2 separate regions of the Homo sapiens genome follow, and region 2 is linked to region 1. The links are contacts of gene promoters, found by promoter capture Hi-C in human tissues and cell types (Jung and others, 2019). All regions are on one chromosome and are shown on one strand. The core of a region is centred on a gene start or on the middle of the fragment in contact, and the rest is flanking DNA. Distances in the headings are between cores, read along the strand shown. Region 1 holds the start of ERRFI1 (ERBB receptor feedback inhibitor 1). Region 2 overlaps RERE (arginine-glutamic acid dipeptide repeats).

Region 1 (5,189 bases), core at 508-3,007:
TTTACAATCTAATATATCTGTCAGGTTATAAATCGTTAGTCTAAGACCTCTATCACTTATTATCGAGTGTCCCCTGGAACACACAGGTGAAAATAAACTTCTGCTTGAAGCAAAGGGAATGACAAATAGTTTCTGAAGTCCATGCTAAATCCTTTGTTATTTTTCTTCAAACTTGCTAATATCTGGAAAAGAACTTGCTTGATAACATATTGGTAACCAATTATAGCCAGCATGTTAGCAAGAAACCAGCTTCTTTTATTTTGGTCTTTGCAAAATTTGATCATTTGCTGATACCTAGCCTGTCTTTGGTCTCTGTTCAAATAAAATTTCACTTAAAACTGTATATTGTAATTACAGAAATATAAGAAAAGAAATGCAGTTAAAAAAATAGGTACGGTGAACTTGGGATGTTCAGTCTCAACAAATGTGTGTACCCACTGCATTCTTACACATTTATAAAAGGTTGAACATTTGTTCTGGAAGGGAAAAAAAGGGCATTTTAACCTCACCTTTCTTCACCCCTGACAGTTGCCTAGAAACCAGTCTTGCCCTACCTGTGTTGCAGGTGTACCTCAAGTCACCGACACATCTCTTTTAAAGCTACAGTCTCCATTCTGACTTAAGTTTATGACTAACCATCTATTCATATTTTTATCAGGTAAGAGACTGGTTTCTTTCAAGCAATGATGAAATCCTAATAAAGACTTAGCAAGCACTAATACAGCACCATTCACGGTTAAAGAGTCATCTAATTTGTACAGGGCTATGATATACATATAAATACACACACAAAATTCCCAATAAGCATTCACGTCTTGAACACATAATTTTGCAGTCCGATTCCATTCAAAGCCGTACTTAAGACACTCAGAGCAAAGAATCACGTTTCTAGGAGAGAAGGAAGAGTTCAGAACAGCTTAGACGAATTTTTAAATACTGATTTCGGCATTACCATCGTCGCTGTGAGATTAGGCAGAGGGAGCGGGGCTGACCGCCAGAGAACCGGTACCAACCACCGCAAGCAATCGCCGAGCCTCCCACCCCAGCTTTCAAGACAGGATTTACGGGTACACGGTGTGAACAAGACAACGCAACCCCCTTTTTACAAATAAAAAAAAAATCAAACAAGCCCCCAGGCCCGAAGACGCTCATCCCCGCCGGGCAACCCCGCGAGCGCAGGCTGCGGGACGAGGACCTTCATGCTCGCCGCTCCCGAACCCCCGTCCGCTCCTGCGGTCCCGGTGCTGCGGGGACGTATCCCGGGCGCTCGGGTGCATGGCCCCGGCCAGCCGAGGGGCCGCGCGACGACCACAGCCGGCGTGGAGAAGGCGGCGGGCGCCGGCACTTCGCGGCGTCCCCAGGCCCGGGCTGCGCCGCCGGGGAGGGTCCCGCTCTCCACACCTCAATGGGGAGAAGCCCGCGAGCGACCGGCCGGCCTCTCCCTCCATCCCAGAGACTCCGCGTCGCGGCGACCCTCCCCGCGCCCTCCACGCCCCCGCCCTCGCGTCGGGGAGCCGCCTGGATCCCGGCGCCCGGCGCGGGGCCCCCTGAGGGAACGGAGCGCTGCGTGGCCCTCCCCACCCCCTCAGCGCGCCAGGCCCCTTACCCCGGAGGAGCGGCGGCTGCCCCGCGGCGCCCTCCCGCGCATGTCCGTCCCGGCTGGCTCAGCGCCGCGGGCTCAGGGGCCCGGACATCGCGCAGGCGCCTCTTGCTGGCTCGCGCTCCCGCTAGCACTCTGCCTCGCACCGGACCGCCGTCGCCGCGGCTGCCGCCGCCGCCTCTATATATAGCATAGGCCGCCGGGCCGTGAGGTCGCCGCGTCCCGCCCCGCCTCCTCCCGCAGCCAATCAGGGCGCGCGCCGCTTAAAGGGGCGATGCCGTGGCCGAGGCGTTGCGCCGGGCCCACCGTGGCGTATCGCGGCGCTGCAGGGAGCCGGCTTTGTCTCCCGGAGAGGCGTCTCCGGGCTGACCGCGGCCGCAGCTCCGCTCCTCTGCCTGAGCCGTGCGGCAGCCCTGGGAGCCTCTCAACGCCGAGCTTTCCTCAGAAGCCCGCGGCGACCCGGGCCTCGGCCGCTGTTCCTGCCCGAACTGAGGGCACATCGCGCTTCGCGCGGGATTTCCCATAAATTCAGGCTCCGGGCAAGATTGTGTGTTTTTTCCTCTCCGCGGGCCGCCGCTGGCCGTGTGGGCCGAAGAAGCCCTGGAGGGGGAGAGGGGAGCCGCTCTCGACTGGGCTTGCGGCGTGGGAGGGACAGTGAGGGACACTTAGGGACTGTGTGGGGCAGTGAAGGATAGTGTGGGATGATGAGGGACCGTGTGGACCGGTGAGCGACTGTGTGGGACAGTGCGGGACGATGAGAGACGGTGTGGGACGGTGAGGGACAGTGCGGGACGATGAGGGACAGTGAGGGACTGTGTAGGACAGTGAGGGACAGTGTGGGACGGTGAGGGACTGTGGGACAGTGAGGGACTTTGGGACTGTGAGGGACTCGGACAGTGAAGGATGGCAAGGGACAGTGTGGGACAGTATGGGACAGTGGACAGTGAGGCACTGTGAGGGGCGGTGAGGGACAATGAAGGATGTCAAGGGACAGTGTGGGACAGTGGACGGTGAGGTACTGTGAGGGGCGGTGAGGGACAGTGTGGGACTGTGAGGGATGGCGAGGGACAGAGTAGGACAGCAAGGGAGGATGAGGGGACAGAGTGGGCCGGCGTGGGGCGGTGAGGCTACGCGGGGGGAACCCAGGGCTCCTCTGACTGCGTTGGAATATGGAGGAAAGGTCCTGCTCGAGGTTGAGCCCTTCAGGGTCGCTGTGGGTTTCCAGGAGGAGCTCCCTCACTACTGACTTAGGGGGCCCTCGGCTTCCCAGGTTTGTGTTTACTCAGGCGACCTGAGCTGGCCCCGACGTCTTTTGGCTTTGGAGAGGCCACGGATGCCCAAGGACAAAGCCCCAGCGGGCCTGTGGGAGGAGGTTTCTCGGGGCGCCAGTGATGCAACTTAGGCTTATAGTTTAACCGTAAAATAAATAATACAAATGATAACAAACCAAGAGTGACTAAAGTCAGAAAAAAAGCAAACAGACGGAAACCCTCTAGTTTTAACTAGAACAAATTCCCTGGCTGGTCCTCTGTTGGGAGAGCCCAGAGACCTGTCGCTGACCTCTAGCCTCCTGGAGCCCCTGCTTGCACTTCAGCAATAATGCCTGATAGTTAGACACTGATCACTAGCTAATTGGGGTAGTTTAACATATGGAATGAGATTCTGGCCTTATTATCAGGTTAACTATTAACTCTACACCCCATGAAATGATTTGCCTTTCCCCCACTATTATTTACTTACATTCTTTTTAATTTAATTCAAAGGCCTAATTTTGAATTCAAGGCCTTAAGCACGAAAAGGAAAAAAAAAAGAAAAAGAATCTGAAGTATCTTTGCCCTCTCTCACTTGCAAAACAAACGAACGTTTTGCAGAGAGAAATCTGGCTTCCTTTCTGATGGCTCTTCTGGCTTACAAGGGGCTGTTGGGTCATTTTCATGCCTATGCCATTTGTCAACAATTCAGTTAACCTATCTTCTTACAGCCATTCATTTAGTATTATTTTAGGATGATGGAAATGAGTCACAACTAATTGCAGAGTTCCTTACCAACTAACTAGGTTTTTTGATCCAAAGAAAATCTGTCCCGATTTTCCTCCCATTTTGGCGTCATTTATGTTTGTGGCTTACCCATATGCTGTTATCAGTGTAAAAAAAAGATGAGTGTGAGAACTTGCCAGGGTACATCTTTTCAAACCTCACGGGACAGGATTTACTGAATGGGCACCTAAAGGAGCTCAAGTTTCATCTGAAAGGAGCCCTGGCTATACTATTTCAAGTCACTACAATACAGTTGTAATTTGTGCTTCGGCCTTATTGGCGTGCTTTTACATTCCCCTATTCATAAAACAGTGATAATCACCAGAGCAACCATCAAACACACCCCTTCTTTAGAGAAAGAAGATCAACAGGATACTCACTCTACAGTTGTGAGCTGTATGATGTGCTAATGTTTTGGTAAATTATCAAAAATCATAAAATCCCATGAGTAATATGTGATTAATCTGATTTTTCTATTTTAAACAACTTGCAAAATAAACTTGATTTATTCATTTTTTGGGGAAAACCTGTTTAGCCACTAGTTTGCTGTGTTTAGCTTGCAGTTATATAATATGGCTTTCTCAGCTGTGGAAGAATTACATGAGAAGACTTACACCCCACAAATTTTTTATCTAATAGTCTGTTAATGATGTGTTATAATAACATTGATATGTCAATAATATTGTAGGACATCTTGGGAAGAGTTTAAAAGCAAAACGCTAAGCATCTTGAAGTAATACTAGCATGTTGTGTTTATTAAGTGATTATTCATTGACCTTTAATAGATTAGAACACTACACCAGAGATTCGGGGAAATAGTCTCTTTTTCCTGAACCCAATTTGTTTTAAATTATCTCCAGAAAAGCATGACATTTAAAGTAAGACAGTGTTTTTTATATCTCTCACAGTCTGCTTAATTTTGAGGCCATTTTCCAAGGAATTTATATTAGTTGATTTTTTTAATAGAACTCAACATCTAAAACGTTAGACTTGCATCACATTGACCCAAATTGTCACTTTTCACTTGCCCTTCTTTCAGTGTAAGAAGAAGCTGTCTTTGGAGTGAGAACAAGGGTGAGGTTCTGGCTCAGAAACCTTAGAATCACAGACACTGTTTTCCTGAAAACATTGCTTCTTTCTCTCATCTCAAAGAAATGCCACAAGTCGTGTGTAAGTATAACATGCTGGACAGGTCCTTATTAAATTTATATTTGTATTTTGATATTATTTTAATCCTGTAGAAGAACATATACATTTTGGTGTTTATTCTTCTTGATTATAGAAGTTTTTGTGTTTCTACTTTGTTTATAATAAATATTTTAAAGTTAAACACATTTTGTATGTCCCTCTTGGTCCTAGAGCCTTTGTTTCTGTCTATACATAATATAAATGTATATTATGCACTTAAACTATTTTATAGATAAGTGTGCAATAAAAAAATACAACCAAGAGAGGAATTACATTTCCTAGAGGGTGTTTGCTTAGTGTGCTACATTGCATTTTGGGAACATTCATATTTCTGTTCATGGATGTTTCCAAAACGCATGCATGTA
Region 2 (5,053 bases), core at 794-3,293, 570 kb after region 1:
AAATGAGTTCTTACAATACCTATCCACTAGTACACTATACAAAAAACAATTAATGGAAGGAGGAGTGGTTAGAGGGATGTATTGGTAGAGATATAGATATATTTTAAAAAAGGATGCATCAACTCAAATAATATAGGAAAGAAGAAATGCAATTCCCACTAACTCTGCAAATGACCCTCAAACCTTACACAGGCACAAGGCTACAATGAAGAAAGCAAGTAAGTTTTGGAGTGACTCCTTCAGGGCACTAATCCCCAAAAGTTTATACCAGCTCAGGCTTCAGCAAACTACAGGCCCACAGGCCATGTCCAGACACCACCTGGACTCTACTGATCCACTAGAAATAAAGTGATTCAGTAAAATAAAGTTTCACTGAAACACGGCTACACAGTCATGCTCATTTGTTTACAAATTGTCTATGGCTAAGTTGAGTAGTTGCCATACAGAAAATAAAACTGAAAAAACTATCTGGCCCCTAATAGGAAAAGCTTGCTGTCCCTGAGTACAAAAATAACCAATAGTAAGAATGTTCAGAATCAGCTGGCTGAGCAGCAGCAAAAAACAGGATAGCTCTCCTCTAGAAACTGGTAGGAGCAAGCTTTCTGCCTCATAAACACTTTGCTGTGTATACACATGTAGTCTTAATTCATGAGACATAAGATTTGTCTTTTAAAAAGCTGACCCAAATACAAACCATCTCCAATCAGTTTCTCAGACACAAGTCAGAATATGACATTAAAATCCAGTGAATTGCACTGATATTTTCTCTTACAGACAAACCTAGTCTGTAGGAAAATAAATTACTCTTTCTCTCTCTCTTTTAATTTAACTAAGGGTCTTGCTCTGTTACCCAGGCTGGGGTATAGTAGTACAATCATAAGCTCACTATAACCTGGACCTCCTATGCTCAAGCAATTCTCTTGTCTGTGGCCTCCCAAGTAGTTGGGACTATAGCCACAAGCTACCATGTCTGGCTTTTTTTTTTTTTTTTCTGGTAGAGACAAGGTCTTGCTAAGTTGCCAGGGCTGGTCTCAAACTCCTGGCCTCAAGTGATCCTCCCATCTCCAACTCCCCAAAGTGCTGGGATTATAGGTGTGAGCTAACACACCTGGCCAGAAAACAATTTTCTCTAATGAATTAACTGAAAAGATTTACCACACAGCGTGTCTATCTTTGGAAACAGCGCTGCCACAAGGTACCTGGTGGTGTTCAAGTACAAATCCCCCTGACCTGCAAGAAATTTCACCTTTAATAATCTTTAAGAAAGGTCAAAAGCATTAACATGACAGATGCCCAGGGCACGAGCCAATAAAAGGAAAAGTTAACTGGGTTATCTCTCTCATATGTAGTTAAAACAGCAAATGCTTAATCATTTAATTTGTACTGATGCTGATTTTTTTTTTTTTTTGAGACAGGGACTTCCTTTGTCACCCAGGCCAGAGCGCAGTGGCGTGATCGTGGCTCACTGCAGCCTCAGCATCCCAGGTTCAACTGATCCCTCTGGCCTCAGCCTCCTAAGCAGCTGGGACTAGAGGTGTGTGCCACCATGCCCAGCTAATTTTTATATTATTTATAGTGACGGGGTTTTGCCATGTTGCCCAGGCTGGTCTCGAACTCCTGAACTCAAGCAATCCACCCGCTGCCTCAGCCTCCCAAAGTGCCAGGATTACAGGTGTGAGCCACTGTGCCCAGCCCCTGATGCTAATTTTTAAATGGACATTTGAATTCTCAAAGAAATTTGTGTTGCCTCTTGTCAAACCAGGTCACTGAAATGATAACCCACACAATAAGCCAATGAGAAGGAAAAAATATATGGGATTGGAAAACAGAATGAAAATCAACATTAAAATTCCATAATTAAAACACGCAGATAGAAAAGAATTTATCTGACAACGTGCTAAGAACCCCCTGTCCTGTGTTTGCTGTCATGGGGAGGGAAGAATGTCTGCAGCACAGGCTTTCCCAGTCTGATTCACAGCCCTGTTATATATGAATGTGCACACTCGAAACAAGATCTGATCTGGACAATAGTCAAGTCTCTAAAAGCAAGGGAGTTCAATTAATTTTTTAAATAAACATTTCACTGGATTTTTTTTTTTTAATGATCAATCCTGTTGACAGTTTTCCCGTCCATCTTCCAGAAGAACTCACTACTCAACCAACTGCCTGGTATTCAGCTGTGACTGTGAGGATGGATAACTATATTTCCTTAAGAAATAGCAGGAAGGTATCTCATCCAAGCAGAAAATAAGACCAACAGTTGTCCAGGTCTCAGTGGTTCTGCATTTCTTCCTAAAAGAGAAATATGTCTCTAAACATCTCTTTCCCGCCTCATGGGGTTGGGGGAAGCAATATGCTCAGAAAAATTTTAACTACTCCAGGCAGCTGAATAAAACAAGCTGAAAACCCTAGATGTGTTCTCCACATTACTGTGACAGAATGCAAGTGTGTATTCGAAAGATTTCCTCGCTGGAATTATAAAGCGTACAGCAAGCCAGCCTGCTGTACTGCCACCTCGCTCTTGCTCCCAGACTCCCTCCCATGGACTAAGCAGGAACGAACATACGAGCTGTGAATCTGGTAGGGGAAACAGGAAACATCCAACCAGGAACACACTGGAGAGAAGAGAAAACAGTTAACCACCTATGAGAAGATGGCGCTGATTCCAGCAGGTGACAGGTGGGACGTGAAGGGCATTCCCGGCCCTCCAGCAGAAGCAACGTCACGGAGCTGGGTGCTGGGTGGGTTGCACCGTTCTGAGGCAGCACGGTTCTCTCCAATGACTCTCACACAGGAACCAGACCTGACTCTGTTTCTTCCAGGACGGTCCTCCCTCACTCCACAGCCTCTCATGGCAGCTGGACACCCACCAGGGCTGGATTCCACACACAGAAACCACATCCAATGCTCTGTTACTAGAAGTCGACCATCTGGATTTCAAAGACCTCTGTCTCTTTCTGTCCTTTGTTAATCAGTCTCCCTTCCCACTCAACCCTCTCCCCTCCATGCCAGAGAAAAGGATTTTTAAATCTGATGAGTTTTTCAGGGAAGCAGAAATGTGAGATTACACTGTTCTTTAGCCTCACCTCATGGTTTTGCTACAGAGATCAACGTCTTCTAACACAGCTTTGCCCATACTCTTCCTGAGGCTGAACCAAAAAATCTTTCATGAACAGTACTGTCTCCACCAGCAGAATGTAAATATACCACAGCACTGACTTCAAAACACTGAAGTAGAGAGTCTTAACTCTCCTTAGACAGAAGGCAGAAGGCTGCAAACATCCCCCAGCAGACTGCAATTGTGCTGTTCCAACTGACAAGCCCAGTAAGCACTGCCCATGACAGGACCTCCTGCAGAACTTCTCCCAGCCTGGCGGACAGCGGGGCAGGGGTCACCCTCAGAGGCTCGCCTTCTCTTTGCTCCCTAGCCATCACACTACACTGGGATGAGACACAACAAGCACCCAAATGACACAGTGACCATTTCTTTTGGTCACTGAGGTTCACGAGATGGGCTGTTTTTCTTTTTCAATCGAGGAGCTGAAATCCTACCAGCCACCTAACAATTAACAACCCCAACCCTGTCCACGGTTAAAATCAACGAAAAAAGCAAGGCCAACTTCTTGTATAACTTCCTTCATACGGGAAAAACATCAAGTTCAACGTGTGTTAATCAAGTGTCAGGTCAATGTACCACGCAAATATATTTGATGTTTTTTGCTAAGGCCAATACTAAACTGTTAAACACAGAGAATATGAGGAAAAACAAGGTTAAAAAAAGTGTATAGATGTCCAACCCTCTTTTAATAATTCCAAAAAAACACAAAGCTACTTAGGCAAAAATAAATCACAAATCTATTCAGGAGCACTGTAAAACGGAAGAGAATTATCTAAAGGGATTCACCGGCTACTGACTAATTTTAATATGAAATGCCTCACAAATCTCCCTGTGCCACCAACAAATCACCAGCTGAGGCAAATCCCAGATAATGAAACATTGTAAGAAGGGCTCTTTTTAATAGTTTAGCCCATCAAGGAGTGAGTATTGATTCTTATTTTCAGCAGAAGGAGACAGTCTTATCTCCAGCCTTACAGCTCAGTGACAACATCAGAGAATTTAATCACAGAGCCTTTTCTGCCATGCAATCCTTAAACTGTCACCTAGGATTCTGTGCCATTCCTCATCCATTTGTAGAGAAACTCCTGGTCTCACAGATGTGTCTGCCTACTTAAACCACAGTAACCATATTATATGGTTGGCTGTGTCCCACCCAAATCTGACTTTGAACTGTAATAATGCCCACGTGCCAAGGACGGGGGCTGGGTGGAGATAAATGGATCACGGCGGCGGTTTCCCTCACACTGTTCTCATGGTAGAGAATACGTCTCACAACATCTGATGGTTTCATAAATGGGAGTTTCCCTGCACAAACTCTCTTGTCTGCCACCATTTAAGATGTGCCTTTGCTTCTCCTTTGCCTTCCACCATGATTGTGAGGCCTACCCAGCCACATGGAACTGTGAGAGTCCATTAAACCTCTTTCCTTTATAAAAATCACCCAGTCTCCGTATGTCTTAATTAGTGGCCTGAGAACAGACTAATACACCATAGCAGCACTTCAAGTCCTACAGATTAAACACATCTATCTATCAATTACCATTTGCCAGCTGTTTTTCTTTAAGAATTTTTTAACAATTCATCAGATATCTTTGTGCATTTCCAACTTGTTTGTTAAGAAATCTGCTCAGTATCTTAAGAGCAGATTGAAAATCATAATAATAGCTGTGCCAATTCTCTGGACATCTGTGGATATTTGTAATATATCCAAGACAATGCCAGTAACAAAAGAAAAAGCCAGGGGGAAGTGATAGCGAAATCAGTCATTATTTCCTTATCCTGACATAGGAAGATCAGAAAGTCCCCCACCTTCCAGAGAAAATTAACCAAATACTAAAGTTAGCAGTAATATTAATTCAAAAGTGTCCCTGCATCTTTAAATACTAAAAAAGTACTCAAAACACAGAAAAAATTACACTGAAAACAAGCCAATAC

Evidence for each region. Contacts are between HindIII fragments. The study calls those that stand out against the background at their distance.
Region 2: a contact is called between a fragment that was not itself captured here and the fragment with the promoter of ERRFI1 in region 1, in 1 of the 25 tissues and cell types used here (stomach).

Annotation. Positions count from the first base shown.
Region 1 is chr1:8,024,552-8,029,740 of GRCh38, forward strand. It overlaps ERRFI1 (ERBB receptor feedback inhibitor 1), which reads right to left and starts at 1,758. Exons shown (of 4, transcript NM_018948.4): 1 at 1,607-1,758. It overlaps ERRFI1-DT (ERRFI1 divergent transcript), which reads left to right and starts at 1,942. Exons shown (of 3, transcript NR_185980.1): 1 at 1,942-2,870; 2 at 4,676-4,806. RefSeq lists silencers at 1,574-1,673, 1,794-1,843. The HindIII fragment of the contact is 15,275 bases long and covers 1-5,189 here.
Region 2 is chr1:8,595,698-8,600,750 of GRCh38, forward strand. The region is part of intron 4 of RERE (arginine-glutamic acid dipeptide repeats); the gene reads right to left. Among named protein-coding and RNA genes, the nearest start is that of SNORD128, 100 kb to the left of the region's middle. RefSeq lists an enhancer at 2,735-3,234. The HindIII fragment of the contact is 8,255 bases long and covers 1-5,053 here.